Linked DNA regions of Homo sapiens: regions 1 and 2 are each linked to region 3. The links are contacts of gene promoters, found by promoter capture Hi-C in human tissues and cell types (Jung and others, 2019). All regions are on one chromosome and are shown on one strand. The core of a region is centred on a gene start or on the middle of the fragment in contact, and the rest is flanking DNA. Distances in the headings are between cores, read along the strand shown. Region 1 overlaps ARHGAP28 (Rho GTPase activating protein 28). Region 2 overlaps L3MBTL4 (L3MBTL histone methyl-lysine binding protein 4). Region 3 holds the start of L3MBTL4 (L3MBTL histone methyl-lysine binding protein 4).

Evidence for each region. Contacts are between HindIII fragments. The study calls those that stand out against the background at their distance.
Region 1: a contact is called between a fragment that was not itself captured here and the fragment with the promoter of L3MBTL4 in region 3, in 1 of the 25 tissues and cell types used here (dorsolateral prefrontal cortex).
Region 2: a contact is called between a fragment that was not itself captured here and the fragment with the promoter of L3MBTL4 in region 3, in 1 of the 25 tissues and cell types used here (lymphoblastoid cells).

The regions. Positions count from the first base shown.
Region 1 is chr18:6,883,296-6,887,086 of GRCh38, forward strand. All of the region lies in intron 11 of ARHGAP28 (Rho GTPase activating protein 28), which reads left to right. Among named protein-coding and RNA genes, the nearest start is that of LINC00668, 45 kb to the right of the region's middle. The HindIII fragment of the contact is 4,461 bases long and covers 1-3,579 here.
Region 2 is chr18:5,998,477-6,002,262 of GRCh38, forward strand. All of the region lies in intron 16 of L3MBTL4 (L3MBTL histone methyl-lysine binding protein 4), which reads right to left. Among named protein-coding and RNA genes, the nearest start is that of TMEM200C, 100 kb to the left of the region's middle. The HindIII fragment of the contact is 4,141 bases long and covers 1-3,786 here.
Region 3 is chr18:6,413,403-6,417,250 of GRCh38, forward strand. It overlaps L3MBTL4 (L3MBTL histone methyl-lysine binding protein 4), which reads right to left and starts at 1,509. Exons shown (of 19, transcript NM_001330559.2): 1 at 1,399-1,509. RefSeq lists a silencer at 1,012-1,551. The HindIII fragment of the contact is 7,728 bases long and covers 1-3,848 here.

The sequences.
Region 1 (3,791 bases), core at 99-2,598, 470 kb after region 3:
TGATGCGATCTTGGCTCACAGCAACCTCCACCCCCGGGATTCAAGCGATTCTCCTGCCTCAGCCTCCTGAGTAGCTGGGATTACAGGTGTGCGCCACCACACCTGTCTGATTTTTGTATTTTTAGTAGAGACGGGGTTTCGCCATGTTGGCCAGGCTGGTCTCAAACTCCTAGCCTCAAGTGATCTCCCTGCCTCACCCTCCAAATTGCTGGGATTACAGGCGTGAGCCACCACACCTGGCCCAGCCACTAATTTAAATTTTAAAATGTTGTGTGAACTTAACAGGTGATGTCTGTATCTGCCATTGTACAACCTTCTCAGGTTGGCCAGAACTACAATTTCATAAAAATTACAATGAAAGAAAATAATAGATCCTAAGTTGTATGGCAAAATTTGTCCTAAAAATTATGTAGGTTCTAAATCTTTGAATGTTTTAACTAAACCAGATTCATAAAATAATCTTTTGTGTCTTGAAAGAAGAGAATATTGTAGGCAAGGCAGTCATTTTCTAAGCTTTAATTCACATGCTGTCCGTGACCAGTATCTATTTTCTTTGTAAGCTTACTGGGTTTTTTTAATGAGAAAAACTTGCTGAAAAAGAGAGAAGAGCTACTAATTTCCTTCATTCATTTTTGTTTCAGACATTGTATTTTTTCAGTTCTAGAATTTTCAGTTGGTGCTTTTAAAATACTTTCTGTTTTTCTGTTGAGGTGACCTATCTTTTCATTCATTATAATCATATTTTCCTTCACATCATTGAGCACAGGTACAATAGCTGCTTCAAAATCCTTGTTGGCGGCCAGGCGTGGGGGCTCACGCCTGTAATCCCAGCACTTTGGGAGGCTGAGGTGGGCAGATCACGAGTTCAGGAGATCGAGACTATCCTGGCTAACAAGGTGAAACCCCGTCTCTACTAAAAATACAAAAAATTGGCCAGGCGTGGTGGCGGGCACCTGTAGACCCAACTACTCTGGATGCTGAGGCAGGAGAATGGTGTCAACCCAGGCGGTGGAGCTTATAGTGAGCCGAGATCGTGCCACTGCACTCCAGCCTGGGCGACAGAGCAAGACTCTGTCTCAAAAAAGAAAAAAAAGTCCTTGTTGGCAGTTCTAACACCTGGGTTATCTCAGGGTTGGTCTCTGTCTTCTTTGAGAATGGGTTACACTTTCCTTGTTACTTTGTATGTCAAGTAAATTTAAAGCTTATTCTGAACATTATGAATATAGTCTTTGGAGACTATGGATTCTGAAGTATTTCTCCAAAGAATGTTGTTTGGTTTCTTTTACTATTGTTGCTCTTTTAAGCCGGCAGTTTGCTTGACTGGACTCAAATTGCCAGTGGTCTTTTGGGCAGGAGCTCAACTGTGTGTTCAGTTGTTCAATCCTTCGCCGTGTTACCCCACACACGCATGGTTTGTGGGTCAGCCAGAGATTTGGGTGAAGTTTATACCAGAATTAGGACCTTCCATCTCTGGATCACTCATTTGTTTTTGTTTTTTGGTAGTTTGAATTATGCAAGGAGGATTCAAACCTCTAATTCCAGATCTGTTCAGAGAATCATATTTAAGAAGGGTATATGAATATATTAATTTTCATCCTCCAAAATATTCAATCCTTGTGTTCAAACCATGCCAAATGATTCCCTGACTGTCAGTTACAAAACATACTTTATAGTTTTTGTGCTTTTACCCAAATACTTCACTAAAGACCTAATCGGTATGACTTCGTAATTTTCAGAAACACTGTGTGACGTTGTAATTTTCAGAGACCAATTATCTTCTGTGTAGCATTTACTGCATGCTGTATCATCATTACTGCCTATCTGACTACAGCCAGTACATTTCACTGAAGGGAGAGGTTCTGAGAAATATCCTGAAAGGGTTCACAAAGAGTCCACATTCCTTCGTATGACTTTGAAAGTGAAAAATACTATATTGCAGGTGGTTGATTTGATACCAGCGAACCCTGCAGGAAACCCAGAGTTCTGGCCTGCTACCAGCAGGAAATAATGGCCTTTTTGCCACCTAAGTAAGCTCTAGTTGTAACAAGATTCTCTGAAGGGGAGGATTGTGAACAAGCGCGTGTGTGTGTGTGTTTAAGCTGTCCCTCTCAATACCCTCAAATGGAGCTCAGAGAACACAGAGCCTTTTCCACTAATGTCGTTACTTTCTCTTTTCAAACTTGGCCCCAAACTTGACCGTAAAATTAAAGGACTAGTATCATCATCAATCAAGCCTCAGATGCTTTCATTACATGCTTAATAACTTTCTGGGGAAATAATGACCTCAGGAAAGAGAATACTTGTGACGGGGATGTATTAAATGAATTAACTACAAAACTATTAATCACAAAACAGCGTTGGGCCAGGTTTCCTAAGTAAAATGAAAATGGATTATTTGCCAAATTAAACTTAACTTAAAAGAGCTTCTTAATTTCTCTGAAGTTAATGGAAACACAGTGGTCCCAAGCCTACATCTGCATCTCTTGTTTTTTTCTTCCCCAGAGTTGTTTTTTTTTTTTTTTAATTGCGTTGGAAGATTAGAGACAGTCCTCAGCCTGCAGTTTATGCACTAACATTATGTCTTGTCTGCCCCTAAATGCTTTGCACTGAGACTTGCTCTTAAAGTTTCTATTATTCAGGCAAGCTCACAGCAATGTGTATTTGCTCTTTTCAGTAACATCCTGGACCTGCGTCATTATAAATTTGATACAAGTTATCCACAAATCTACACATGGATTTTTCTTCAACAATATGATCCTCCCTCTCTCCCCATATTGCTTGGTTGTATACACTTGTCATCTACTCCTGAACTCTAGCACGCACAGCTCCAGTAACCTACTAGCTTGTCACAAGTGTTTCCACTGCTATACAGCTCAGTTAACTTCACCAGCAGCTGACTGCCTTCCAGCCATTGAATAGAAATAGATTTTCCTTCAACTTGAGAACTCCCCAGAGATTCCAGAACATAATGCTTTCCTCCAAGAACTCCCCACCAAGACACCATTTTGAAGAAAATACAGAGGGACAAAGGAAAGCCTAGATTCTCTGGTGTATTCTAAATTTTCAGCACAGCTGGTCGTGGATTATCCAGCTGTGGATGGAATCCCTGAGTATAAATGCCAACCCTCTGGCGCCATCTTGTGTCATTACTGAGGAAGAAAATACTCAACAATCTCCAAAGATCCAACTACAGTCATCACCTTCCCTAAGTGTCCATGGAAGATCTAGAATAAGTGTCATAGATCATAAAAGTAAGAGCAAATATGTAGAAAGATAACTATGTACAGGTACTGATTTAAACACTCTACATGTATTAACTCATTTAATCCTCATAACAGCCTGTGAGGTAGATACAATGACTATTCCTATTTTACAGATAATAAAGTAGATGCAACAGGGATTAAATAACCTGCCCCAGGTCACACAGCGACTAAATAGTAGTCCAGGTTTGAAACCTGGTTCTAAATCTGTGTTCCTAATACTTATACTTTTCTGCCTCATTATATGGAAGCAAGGTTTATTTTCTCTTGTATTGAGTGAGCTTCACTTCTATTTATAGTATTAAAGGAAGGGAAGGTCTGCGAAAGTACTTTGAAAGGGAAGTGCTATCCAAATCCAGAATTATTCTGAGGATCTCGTTGGCCACCTGCCTCAACAATGGCATCATGGGATGGGAAAAGGGAGTTGATGGACAGAGGCTCCTGTCCAAGTGAACAAATTTACATTGCTGGGCACAAAACCTGAGTCTTTACCACCAAAAGCTGTCAGGAGCCCTCCTGTGCCACCAGATG
Region 2 (3,786 bases), core at 792-3,291, 410 kb before region 3:
CTGCTTGCTCAGGCTGAGGGTGGGCCTGGGGGAAGGAAAGTCACTTAACCAAAGGGTGGTTAACAAGTACTTTGTCCCCATTTGGCAAAAGAGGTCAGCTAATCATTTATGAGGCAAAGAAAGGGCATTTGGAAGGACTGTGTCTGGCCTTGTCTGAGGCAGTCAAGGGGTGATCCACCAGACTTCTCTAAGTCACGTGGGGAAGGGGCGTTCTTTGCAATCAGTCATTTTCCAGGACACAAAGGTTGGGGTGATTACTCAACCTTTGCTGTTTTCCAGGATCCCTAAGGGTCAGGTAAAAGTCAACATTGTCTGTTCCTGTCCCCTCCTTTCTGTCCTCACTGTCAGCAGCCTGGCCAGCTGCCACTTGCAGTCACCTGGGATAGTCTCTGCCTTCAGGCTCCTCTATTCCAAGTCTCCTCCAACCTGCCCTCAGAATTTTTCTCTGCCATAAATCTAACTAAGTTATTCTCCTCAAAATCAAGACAAAATGAAATGACAAACAAACCAGATACTCAGTTAAGATGATTCCTGAACTTTCTCTCATTAAGCAGAGGATGAAGGAACACTCTTTAGCATGGTGTCCAAGACACCTGACTCACAGTCCCACCTACTGCCTCACCACAAGTTTCTTTCTGTCTCAGATGTGTCTCTGGTGTAGTGCAGCCAGATAGCCACAGAGCCTTGAGGATGCTGTCCTAGTTCTCTGCTTTTGATTATCAAATCTGCCTAGCAGAAACATTTTTCTCATATTTATATTTATTGAAATTCCACCCACTATTTATGGCCTAGTTCAGATGCTATCTTCTCCTGAAAATGTCTGATTCCCACAAAGAGAATCAATTGGTTTCCCTCTTCCAAATGTCTTGGTTTGAGGTTGCAAAGCAGCACTTACCCTATGCTACCCTGTAACTGTAATAGCTGTTTCCACCTTTATGCCCCCACCAAGGAAGGGCTCACTCTTTCTTCTGAGCACGCCCTACCTTCCTCAGAGTGTGCTGTGCTTCATAAAAATGTGTTGAATGGAATGAAAGAAAAGAACATGTTTTTCTATTAAAGTCATTTTAAACATGCTAATCAGCAAGGAATATGGCTGTGAGCATTTCTCCTCATCCTCCTAGAATCATACAAAAACAAACAACGAAGAAAATAAAGGAAACACCATAAATTCCATTTTCAGTGAAACTAGAAGGCAGATAAATTCCCTAGATTCAATATATCTGTAAAAAGGGCCAGAAGCAACTGTGATTGGCTAGAAGATATGCAGGGGAAGGGAAGAAAAGAAGGGCTGAGTGGTGGCCGATCTCCTGGGTGGCCACTGCCAGAATGCAAAGGCACATTCCTTGCTTGTACAAATGGGGACAGGACCTTGGGTGAGCAGGGTTGGTATAAAAGAAGCCCTACTGGACTTAGTTTTGTTCAAGGAGTTAGAGTTTTCAGGGCTACACAGAGAATAGTCCAGAGGAGCCATGTTTGCAGGAAGCACTCTGTCTCAGTGTCAGGCAAGAGAGAGAAACCTTTTAGTTGGAAAGCCTAGCCCTCATTTCCTGTCAATATAGATGTGTGTGAATAGTTAGTTCAGGAAAATTGAACTCATTAAGTAATGAGTGAGCTCAGAAAAAAGAAAGAAGAAAAAGAAAAAAAAATGATATGGTGTTGTTATAAAGATGCCATGAGAAAAATGTGAATGAGACCAGTAAAATCTATTAAATTTTTAAAATGTATCCATAAAAATATTGCCACTGAGGAGATGAAAGAGTGATCAGACATTCTGACATGTTTGGAAACACAAAATAAAGCTTAGTGAGGCAATTATCTCTAGGAAGGAAGAAAATAAAGTAGAAATGTGACAATTCGAGGAAGAGACAGCAAGTCAATAAAAGGCAATGCAGAACTCCAGAAAGAAGTAGAGGAGAAAAATAAAACCATTACAGGAATAGAGATGGAACTCGAAGGAGCAGAAAGGGAGAATGGACCTTGCATAACCCGGAGTCAGGATTATACTCATAAAAGATAAAAATGAGAAAGTCAAGCAAAATGAAATTTAAATTTAAAAAGAACTTAAAAAACATTAGAGAAGGTGATTCAACACATACATAATTAGTGTGTCTGAGGAAAAATCAAAACAATGAAACAGAGCAAATATTTAAATATATAATAAAAACAACCCTTTCCTAAATCTATATATGTGAATGTACTTGAATCTATATATCATAAGGGCATACCATGTGCCACATTCAGTGAATTGGAATGCAATAACAAGACCTATCTTAGTAAAGTTTTTGGAGCTTAAAGATAAACACTCATTACAGCATCCAGTCAAGCATCACATATTGTCTCAAAACTTTCAAAAACAAAGGACAGGAGTGATGTTAGGGAAGATGGTGGGTAGGAAGTGCCAGGAATCTGTCTCTCTGCCTAGACAACAATTGCACTGGCAGAATCTGACTGATAGAACTATTTTGGATCTCTGGAGTCTTGCAGCTTCCGGAGGTCAGCTTAGATGGTGGTAAATCATGGCTAATTTTGGTCAATTTCAGCTCTTAGAACAGTAGCAACTACTCACTTCCCATCCTCCAGCCCTGTGGCAGGCAGCTGTGCCAACAATCTGGGTGCAACTTGCATGTGGCTTTCAAGAACCAGGGTGGGCAATAAGTACCTTGTCCTCCAAATATTGAGGATCTGTGTCCTCATAACTGACTATGAAGGTGCAGGCCAGAGGCCTTTATAGCAATCCCCATTGCCTAAAGTGGCTTCCAGGGTATGTGAAGATAATTGCCTTAAAAAAATTTCCGTCCAGTTTTCCCCTTCTGGGGAGCCAAACATTTAAGGATTAGCACATTTAAAAGCAATAACATATACAAGGGAATTTAGTAAGTCACCATGCACGACCAAGGAAAGCAGTGGGCTCAGAAATGACCTGAGAAGACCTTAAGTTTACACCTCATGCTGATGTCTGGCATGGAGCTACCATAAAACAATTAAAAAACCCCAAACAAACAAAAACCAAAATCAGAAGCAGCAAACCCTGGGGAAGGCGGGGAATCTGATTAATAGAGATACTATATTATGAGATTCAAATGGTCAGTTTCAACAACAAAAAAATACGTGGTATATGAAAACAGGAAAGTATGACCCACTCAAAGGAAAAAAATCAACAGAAAAATAACTAGAATGAAAAATTCACTAGAGGGATACTAAAGCAGATTTGAGTAGAAGTAAGAATTAGTGAATTTGAAGATAAGACAATTGAAATTGAGTATGAGGAATATAAAGCAGTAAGATTAAAGAAAAGTGAAGAGTCTAAGGGATCTGTAGGACAGCATAAGCAGACCAATATACACATTGCAGGAGTTTCTGAAGGAAAAAAGAGAGGGAGCAAAGAGCACAGAGACAATTTGGAGAAACAATGGCTAAAAGCTTCCCAAATTTAAGGAAAGTCACAGATTTACAAATCTAAGATGCTCAACAAACTCCAAGTAAAGTAAACCTCAAGAAGACCCACAATGAGACATACTATAATCGAACTTTCAAAAGCCAAATACAAAGAAGGAATCCTGAAAGCACCAGAACAAAAGTGACTCATCATTACAGGAATCTTCAAGAAAGTTATCGAAGAATTTCTTAGCCAAAACTTTGCTGGCCAGAATGCAGTAGAATGATATACTTAAAGTGCTGAAAGAAAAAAATAAAATCATCAACCTAGAATTCTATATAAGCCAAACTCTCTTGCAAAATTTGAGAGAAACTTAGTAATTTCCAGACAAACAAAAGTTGAAGGCATTC
Region 3 (3,848 bases), core at 259-2,758:
ATCCAATCCCTTTGGATACTCCAAGAAAAAAACCTCTCCTCTTTCAACCGTTTCTCCTAATTCTGTAGTAATATAAGGAATGCATTCCAAGTTTTTAATATTACCAAGGGCCAAAAACAACTCTACTGTACCCACCACCTGTTTGTCACCTTAACCTTTTTAGGTGGAATAGATTAGAAAACCGAAGAGCCACACTACACTTATTTCAGCCAAGGACTGAAACTGGAGCCTGCCACAAGCATCTTCTAGAACAGCTCCAACAGAAGGATCCAGGAGATGGGCCACCAGCAAGTCATAGTGGAGTCCAAACAAGTGTGAAGTGAGAGCGAGTCTTCAGCATGGGAATGGCCGAGTGGGTCGTGGTGACCAGCTGCCTTCCTCTGACTGTTAAGTACAGCAGTCTCAACAGTAACAATGACCAGGCCTTCCCTTTATTTAGTTCCACCTCGGGGCATTGGCGCATTAAGAATGTCCCTCTAAAGGCATATGTAAGATAAAGCACACTTCGCACTTTAACCAGTGACTAAGGGAGATCAAAAGCAGGGGACAATACCCACCCGGAATTTGCGACCTCGCGAAAACGCTCTCACCAATCCCGCAGGTAAGTGCGGCGCTGGCCCAGGTGTGCCCAGCTCGACTCGCGTCCACCTGGGACCAAGCGGGCCCAAGAAGGCCCGGAGAGCAGGCGAGGGCGACTGTGGCCGGCGCGCCCCCCGCAGTTCCAGGCGGTGGCAGGAGCCTGAGAGCCGCCGTCCCAGGCTGGCCAGGCGCCCGCCCGCCCTGCGCGCACTCCCTGGGCTCCCGCTCCCGAGGCTGGGCAGAACTCGCAGAGGAAGACAAGGGCAGAAAGCGGGTGGAGGGAGGCAGCGCTCGCCCGTCCGGGCACACGACACTTGTCGGCTGAGGGGGACACGCGGGCAGACGGGGGCGTTAGCCCCAGAGGAAACAAAAGCCAAATGCCCACCGCCGGGCGCTCGATGGCCGGAGGACTGCCTGGGGGCCCTCAGGAGTCCCGTCCCGTCCCGCTCCCCCGGTCCCAGGCTGCGCTGGCTCCAGGGCGCCCAGGTAGCCGCGCCTGGCACCCCGACCCTGCCCTCGCGGCTGACCGAGGCGCCGGGCTCTGCGGCGGCCGCGCCCGTCCAAAGTAGGCGACAAGTGAGGCAGCGCCTCTCGCGGGGAGCCCGGCGCGCGCCCCGGCGGCGAAAGAGAAAGAGAAAGAGCCTGGGCCGGGACCGGGGCTATCCCCAACCGCCACCGCCCCCACCGGCCCGGCCCTCGCCGCGGGAGTCGTGCAGGCCCCTCTACCTGCCCGGGGATGGGGCCACCCCGCGCGGCGGCGGCCGTGGGCACCCACGCGGGCTCGCGACCATCCCACGCGGGCGGCGGCGTCCTTCTTACCCCCAGCGGAGCGGCGCCTGCCCGCAACGCCGACCGAGCTACAGGCGGGGGGCGAGTCGGAGCGCGAGGTTCCGCCAGCCCAGGCTGCGGCGCCGCTGCCCCGCGGTGCCCGGCGGGAGGGGCGCGAGGGTGCACGCGCGGGGTGGGGGCGCGGGAGCCGCCCCCTGCCCGCCCCGCGCGCATGCTCCCGCCGCACCTGCCTCGCTCAGTGTTCCACACCCCGGGGAGCCGGGTGGCGCTGGGCCCGCCGAGGTCGGGGCTTTCCCATGGGAGGGAGGTGGCTGCGGCGGAATTTTCAGATGCGTCCTTCTCTGTATTCGTTCCCTGGGAAGGATTCCCCCAAATCTTGGCTACTTCCTGCCTGCCAGCTTGCTCCCTGGCAGCGAAGTCCCAGTAGCTCACCCATGCTTCATCCCAGCTCTTGGGGTTCACCGTCTGAAGGCTCTCTCCTCCGGATCCCTCTCGGTCCTGCTGCTCGCTCCGATTTTGCAACCTCCCCCACTCCCCTTTCCTGCTCTTGACTTTGCTACTCACGAGTACCTGGATACCATTTCCAAATAAAAGAATACTCTTTCCAAGTGGCAAGCAGTGTTTACTGACCCTGTTCTAACTGCTTGGAATTGAGCAGGAAACAGGAGCTGGGTAGATCCTGCCCTCATGGAACTTATGGCCTTACTGGCTAGCTTTGGCCTTTCTCAAAGCATTGTCTCCCAGTTTGGGAGGACTGTATTAAATCATTTATTTTGGCTTACAAATAAAGGTAGCTGATAATTGAAGACTATATGTTGTGACTTTTGAATGAAATGTTCTTTCATAGGACGCCTTGTGTATAAACCCTAGTATGCAAATAATAAATAGTAGGTACTAAATAAGTATTAGTTTGTTGCTTTCAGCAGGAAATTGAATCATTTAGCAGGATTAACAATGATACCATCCAAAATGATCTTTTTGGTTTGTCGTGGGCTACCATAAACAGAGAATGAAAACTTGCTTTTTAGGTGAGACTGGGCATTGTTGAAACATAATTTCGTGTCCTTACTGAAAAGAGAAATATAAACCCCTTTGCTAATGAAGTTTTTAAACTAGGAACAATGATCATAGAAATTTGTAAGTGCAAACACACGATTTGTGTTCTGTGCTCTAGTCAGTTAAGAAAAATATATTAGCCAGGTATGGCGGCTCACATCTGTAATCCCAGCACTTTGGGAGGCCGAAGAGGGCGGATCACTTGAGGTCAGGAGTTCGAGACCAGCCTGGCCAACATGGTGAAACCCTGTCTCTACTAAAAATACGAAATTAGCTGGGTGTGGTGGCGGGCGCCTGTAATCTCAACTACTCGGGAGGCTGAGACACTAGAATCGCTTGAACCTGGGAGGCAGAGGCTCCAGTGAGCTGAGATAGTACCACTGCACTCCAGCCTGGGCAACAGAGCGAAACTCCAACTCAAAAAAAAAAAAAAGAAGAAGAAAAAGAAAAACAAAAAGAAAAAGATATTAGAGACAAAGAGAAAAAGAAAGAAGTAGAAGACCTCAGTAGCGAGAGGAAAACATTTGAAACTCAGTTCCAACCAATTTTAACATTGTGCTAAGGACTTACAGTGTTGCATTACTGTGACAATGGGCATGCCTGCAGGTACCACCTTTGGTTGGATACTTGTTCACCAGATTGGATGAAATTAGAACGGGACTCAGCAGGTGAGAGTTCCACCTCCCTGCTACTCACAGGAACACGGATACCATTTTTGGTGAAGGATAAAGTGCTTCAATTATTGCAGTGTATCCCCAGTCCATCCCAGAGGTATTTATTTATCATTGGAGATTCTAGGTATTAGTAATAGAGATATCAAAATGTCCCCAGCACAGAAAGAGTTAAGTGCACTTCTGGTTCCAGGAGCCCTTCAGAAAAGTGAATATTGATGTTATAATATATGAAATCAAAGAAGAAAGCTGGATTGAAATCCAAATAAAGTGAATTTACATCAGCTTATCTTCACTTCTTGGGGGGAAACAATTGTTTTTATAACATGTTTATTGACTATATTTGGTTTAAGTTTATGAAAGCAGACACACTGTTTTCAGGGGCTGGGTTTACATAAGGAAAAGGATACACCAATGAAACAAGTTGAAACAGGCAGGAAACCTCATCTACAGCTACTTAAATGTAAGTGCATAGGTGCATAGTGCTGACAACATATGATTCTGTTCAGAGAAGCTGACATCTGTCTTAAACTACACTGTTATTCAAATTTTATGGAAATATAAGCAGGAACGCATTAGTACACTTCTTACAAAATTTTTGAAAGCTGTTGTAGTAAATCCCTTTTATCTGAACGGCTGCAGATTAAAATGAAATAGCCATATTGTTGATTTTTATAACTTTGCTAATGATCCATCATGAGCAAAGGGGTTTATAGCATTGGTAGTTGCTAGGCATTTTACTTTTATAATTCA